Regions from separate parts of the Homo sapiens genome. Here region 1 is linked to region 2. The links are contacts of gene promoters, found by promoter capture Hi-C in blood cells and fetal thymus (Javierre and others, 2016). All regions are on one chromosome and are shown on one strand. The core of a region is centred on a gene start or on the middle of the fragment in contact, and the rest is flanking DNA. Distances in the headings are between cores, read along the strand shown.

The links. The method cuts DNA at HindIII sites, captures the fragments that hold promoters and counts their contacts. A CHiCAGO score of 5 or more calls a contact.
Region 1: a fragment that was not itself captured here is called in contact with the fragment with the promoter of TSFM in region 2 in 1 of 17 cell types (monocytes); the score reaches 5.7 in monocytes.

The regions. Positions count from the first base shown.
Region 1 is chr12:55,988,449-55,991,468 of GRCh38, forward strand. RAB5B (RAB5B, member RAS oncogene family) reads left to right here. Exons shown (of 6, transcript NM_002868.4): 3 at 1,499-1,650; 4 at 2,234-2,356; 5 at 2,912-3,005. Among named protein-coding and RNA genes, the nearest start is that of SUOX, 7.3 kb to the right of the region's middle. The HindIII fragment of the contact is 2,234 bases long and covers 463-2,696 here.
Region 2 is chr12:57,781,202-57,784,308 of GRCh38, forward strand. TSFM (Ts translation elongation factor, mitochondrial) reads left to right here and starts at 1,586. Exons shown (of 6, transcript NM_005726.6): 1 at 1,586-1,657; 2 at 1,909-2,082. The coding sequence starts at 1,601. It overlaps EEF1AKMT3 (EEF1A lysine methyltransferase 3), which reads left to right. Exons shown (of 3, transcript NM_015433.3): 3 at 1-1,340. RefSeq lists enhancers at 1,347-2,216, 1,570-1,639. The HindIII fragment of the contact is 6,425 bases long and covers 1-3,107 here.

The DNA of each region.
Region 1 (3,020 bases), core at 330-2,829, 1.8 Mb before region 2:
CAATAAAGGATCTTTTATGAGAACTTCCAAATTATTCCTTCCCCTTGTTATTTTTATTTATTTATTTATTTATTTTTGAGACGGAGTCTCTGTCGCCCAGACTGGAGTGCAGTGGTGCAATCTTGGCTCATTGCAACTTCTGCCTCCCAGGTTCAAGTGATTCTCGTGCCTCAGCCTCCTGAGCAGCGGAGATTACAGGCACATACCACCATGCCCGGCTAATTTTTGTATTTGTATAGAGACAGGGTTTCACCGTGTTGGCCAGGCTGGTCTCAAACTCCTGACTTCAAGTGATCCACCCGCCTCGGCCTCCCAAAGTGCTGGGATTACAAGCATGAGCCACCGTGCCTGGCCTCTTTCCCCTTTTTATTAGTCATCTTGGAAATGTATTCCTGGACCTGCAGCAGATTATATGAAAAAGTAACAGCCAAATAATATTGATAATGATGGGACTTGCCATCAAGCTTTAAAATCTTCTAATTAATTCTTTTTTTTTTTTTTTTTTTTTTTGGATACTGAGTCTCACCCTGTTGCCCAGGCTGGAGTGCAGTGGTGCAGTGGTTGCCCATTGCAACTTCCGCTTCCCCAGTTCAAGCACTTCTGCTGCCTCAGCCTCCCAAGTAGCTGGAATTACAGGCGTCCATCACCATGCCTGGTTAACTTTTGTGTTTTTAGTAGAGGCGGGGTTTCACTATGTTGGCCAGGCTGGTCTCGAACTCCTGACCTCAAGCCATCCACCTGCCTTGGCCTCCCAAAGTGCTGGGATTACAGGCATGAGCCACTGCGCCCAGCCAATCCTCTAATTAATTCTTTTGTTTGTTTGCGTTTGTTTGTTTGTTTTTTGAGACGGAGTTCCGCTCTTGTTGCCCAGGCTGAAGTGCAGTGGCGCCATCTTGGCTCACTGCAACCTCCACCTCCCAAGTTCAAGGGATTCTCCAGCCTCAGCCTCCCGAGTAGCTGTGATTACAGGTGTCCACCACCACGCCTGGCTAATTTTTGTATTTTTAGTAGAGACGGGTTTTGCCGTGTTGGCCAGACTGGTCTCGAACTCCTGACCTCAGGTGATCCACCTGCCTCAGCCCCCACCTCCCAAAGTGCTGGGATTACAGGCGTGAGCTACCGTGCCCAGCCCAATCTTCTAATTAATTCTTGATGTGACTTTTATCTGAAGCTATTTTCTCTGTCATTTGTTATTCTCCTATTTTGGTTAGAAGAAGGATGACTCGTATAAGTGCCAGTTCTTCTGTCCCTCTTAGTTTATGATGTACCCCCATTCCTTAGCTAGTGACATTTCTGGCAGGAAGGACTTAGCCAAGGGCAGTCTTAATCCTGGTTTCAAGACTTACATGTAAGGAGAACTCAAAACCTTTTCCTGTAGCTGACTATCCTGGGTGGTGACTGGTCTTAGTGTAGGGCAGTTACATTTTGAAGGGGGGGAGGGATGTTCCCATTCATCCTCCCACTTACAGCATCTTCCCCTCCATTCTCTCATCCATAGCGGCCTTCCTCACCCAGTCCGTTTGTCTAGATGACACAACAGTGAAGTTTGAGATCTGGGACACAGCTGGGCAGGAGCGATATCACAGCTTAGCCCCCATGTACTACAGGGGTGCCCAAGCTGCAATCGTGGTTTACGACATTACTAATCAGGTAAGTGAGCTAAGAAGACTGTCCTTGTTGGCTGGACATGGTGGCTTACGCCTATAATCCCAACACTTTAGGATGCCAAGGCGGGAGGATCATGAGGTCAAGAGATTGAGACCATCCTGGCCAACATGGTGAAACCCCGTCTCTACTAAAATTACAAAAATTAGTTGGGCGTGGTGGTGCGCGCCTGTAGTCCCAGCTACTCGGGAGGCTGAGGCAGGAGAATCGCTTGAACCCAGGAGGCGGAGGTTGCAGTGAGCCGAGATCGAGCCACTGCACTCTAGCCTCGGCGACAGAGCAAAACTCCGCCTCAAAAAAAAAAGAAAAAAGACTGTCCTTGCTTATATTTAGAGGAGTTAGTTTGGGGCAGGGGGTAAGGGGGCAGAAAACGGGTTCTTGAAATAGCAAATAAGAGTACAAATTATGCTTCCAAGTGCTAAGAAGACAGATAATGAATTATCAGAGACCTGTGGTTTCACTGAGGGAAGACCACCTAGAAGAGGTGAATTTTGAGACTCATTTTAAAAGGTGATGGATATGGATTGGCAGTCATTCCAGCCTACTCATTCTCTTCATGTTTTCCTAGGAAACCTTTGCCCGAGCAAAGACATGGGTGAAGGAACTACAGCGACAGGCCAGTCCTAGCATCGTTATTGCCCTGGCAGGGAACAAAGCTGACCTGGCCAACAAACGTATGGTGGAGTATGAAGTAAGGTGGCCCGTGGAGTTCCTCTCTAACACTTCCTCTGTTCCTGGGACCTCTTTTTTTCCAAACCAGCCCTCTCTGAAAACGTCAACAGAGGACATTCATTGTCTCATTCCCCAGTTCTACACCAAGTTAAATACAGCAACACTGTGACCCTAATGACAGCCAGGAGATTTTCAAAGGAGTCAGGAGAAAACTCCAGAGCAGAGGGTTAGGGAGGTACCAGCTGTGGGGGTACCAGTGTGAAAACAGGAAGGAGGGAGCAATTAAATTTGTGGTAAGGGACTATTCAAGTGTCACAACCCAAAAGCCCCCAACTAACTTACCCTCTCCCCTATAATTAAGCTTTCTGACATTTGTGTGTTGGACTGAGTGGACATGGGGTCATCTTGAGGGAGTTGTCATTAAATTATGCATCTAGGCTAGCTGGCTCAAAGGGGTATTAATTAAGGGGAGGGAACCTAGGATTTTGCCTAGCTGTTGTGCTGCATGGGAGTGGAAAGGCAATACTCGTTCCCACCCTACATTCTGAGCACTAATACATCCCACTCCTTGCAGGAGGCCCAGGCATATGCAGATGACAACAGCTTATTGTTCATGGAGACTTCAGCCAAGACAGCTATGAACGTGAATGATCTCTTCCTGGCAATAGGTAAGGTCAGAACAT
Region 2 (3,107 bases), core at 336-2,835:
GGCATGCGCCACCACACCCGGCTAATTTTTGTATTTTCAGTAGAGACAGGGTTTCGCCATGTTGCCCAGGGTGGTCTCAAACTCCTGGGCTCAAGTGATCCACCCGCCTTGCCTCCCAAAGTGCTGGGATTGCAGGCATGGCCCACTGTGCTAGCCTAGGATTTTTTTTTTTTTTTAAGAAAGAATTAAGCCTTAAAAATCTATTGTGCAAGAACCCAACTTTTACTCAGGAGCTGAGAAGGAAGAAGCCTCAAACCACCCATTTCCTGCTTTTTAGAGATAGAGTCTAGTGGAACCATGGCTCTAACTGGGTCAAGTCCTCCTAGCTCTGAAGCTAAGGCTGCAGAGCTGTCCTTTGGACTGTATTTCTTCATGCTTTCCAGAGTTAGAGCCTTGATCACGGAACATCATTGTGTGCAGAAGAATACTGTACCTAGTACTAAGTTCTTTTCATCTTTGATTTTTCTTTAGCTTCATCAGTCCTTCCTTCCTAATCTCTAATCCCCTGAAGCCTAACACAGTTCCTAATGTGTTTTGCCTTAACCTCTTTTCTCTTCCCACATTGGTACTTCTGGTTGGGGCTCTCTTTACTTACTGCTTAGGCACATAGTCACCTTCTCTGGACTCCCTGCTTCCATGCTTTCTCCTTCAGTCCATTCCGCAAACTCTTGTGATCTTCCAAAATTAGCTCTGATTAGCTTTCACTTCCTGTAGAAGCAAGAACAAGCTCCTCTGCTTGGTACTTAGTCTGTGTCCATGTGATCCAAAATTACCTTCCTATTGCATTTCCTACTCCTTTGCTACGTGTATTGGACCTCTGGCCAAATTACAAAAGATGTACTCTTTGTTCTCTAAAACCACACTAAAGTTTTCTGACTTCTTTCACACTCTTTATGATAATCCTCTGCCTGAAAGGCTATTGCCACCTGTCAAAATCTTCATTATTCTTTGCCTCTTTCCTGAGCCTCTTGCTTGAATGTGATTTCTTTCTCCCTGAGACCCATAAGGTTCATCTTATGGGACCTTAATTTGTCTTGCATGGACATTTGTGATTCTCATTTTCTCACCATTAAATTACCTTGGAGGGTAGGGCTGTGGTTTACTCCTGTCTAAACCCCTGAAGCCTAACACAGTTCCTGGCACACAACAGGTGTTCAACAGATATTGTGCTCATTCAATAAATATTTACTCGCTTTGTTTAATGGATTCCACCCCTGCCTTCCTAGGTGACCTTGGACAAATTCTCGAACCCATTCACCAACCACACAAGTTTGTTGTGAGTCATAAATGGATAATGAATATAAATGCGCATTGAAAATAAACATAAAATGTTACCCACATTTCTTGTGTTGTTGTTTTGTGACGACTTTATTTCTTGGTTTCTGTTATTTTACCTGGGGTGGGAGGTGGGGGGTAATTCCCGTATGAAATGTGTCGTCTCAAGAAATCAAGTAGAGGCGAGGACTGTGTTCCTCCGGCCAGCAGGTGGCACCATACTCGTTTGGTGCGTTCCGCTGGAGAATTCTGGCCCTTCCGCCGCGCCGTAGGTTTGTTGCCTCACCAGTGCGCCCGCCGGAGGGTGTTTATCGCGGCTAGAGAGATGTCGCTGCTGCGGTCGCTGCGCGTGTTTCTGGTCGCGCGGACCGGGAGCTACCCGGTGAGAAGTCCTGGTGCTGGTACCGACCTGCTGTCCCTGCAGCTCTCCTGTGCGCCTGTACCTTTCCCTTCCTCCCAACCTCGTTTGACTCCATCTCACCTTCCCCGACAGCATTGCCTCTGCCCAGTCCAGCCCCGGTGCACCCCCCTTTGCACACTGTCCGCTCCCTAAGGTCGCTTCCCTGCCCGTGTACCCTTCACCCTCTGGAGTTTGCTGCTTCCTGCTCCTCATCCCTTTCTTATCTCATCTAGGCTGGGTCTCTTCTGCGTCAGTCGCCCCAGCCAAGGCACACATTTTATGCTGGGCCCCGTCTGTCTGCCTCGGCCTCCAGCAAGGAGCTCCTCATGAAGCTGCGGCGGAAAACAGGCTACTCCTTTGTAAATTGCAAGAAAGCTCTGGAGACTTGTGGCGGGGACCTCAAACAGGTGTGTGTGTGGAGGGGTGCAGGGCGGAGTACTAGAGCTCGACCTCAGACTCTTGGGGCGGTCACGCTGGGGAGCATAAAGTTAGACTGCTCTTCAGTGACCATAATGGCACAGTCCTAAGTGGAAATCTGGCTTAAATGACAACCTTGGCCTTGACTTTGTCTTATTTGAAAGCAGTTGAGTATCCCAGGATTAACAAACCAGACTGTTACGGTGTTTCTTGTTGCCTGGAGCTGAAAGGGTTTGTGTGAGCTTTGGAGTCAGATTGTTCAGGAGTCAAATTGTGGGGCCCCCACACTGTCTGACTTTAGACTTTTTTTTTTTTTTTCAGACGGAGTCTTGCTCTGTGGCCCAGGCCGGCGTGCAATGGCACGATGTTGGCTCACTGCAACCTCCGCCTCCCGGGTTCAAGCGATTCTCCTGCCTCAGCCTCCTGAGTAGTTGGGATTACAGGCGTGCGCCACGACACCCGGCTATTTTATTTTTTATTTTTTATTTTTTTTTGTATTTTTAGTAGAGATGGGGTTTCGCCGTGTCGGCCAGGCTGGTCTCGAACTCCTGGCCTCAGGTGATCCGCCCGCCTCGGCTTCCCAGAGTGGTGGGATTACAGGAGTGAGCCACCGCGCCCGGCTGACTTTAGACATCTTAATCTTTCAGAGTTGTGTAGTTTTTGCCTGTACGGTCATGCGTCTCTTAATAGGAAGATACATTCTGAGAAATGGCGTCGTTAGGAGATTTTGGCTTATGCACATCATAGAGTACCTACACAAACCTAGATGGTATATTGTACTACAACCTGGGCTATATGGAATTGCCAGCTGCTCCTAGGCTACAAACCGTTACAAAATGTTACTGGACTGAATACTGTAGGCAGTTGTAACACAGTGGTAAGTATTGTGTATCTAAACATAGAAAAAGTACAGTAAATAGGCATAAAAGATAAAAAACGATACATCTCCATAGGGAACTTATCATGTATGGAGCTTGCAGGACTGGAAGTTGCTCTGGGTGAGTCAGTGAGTGGT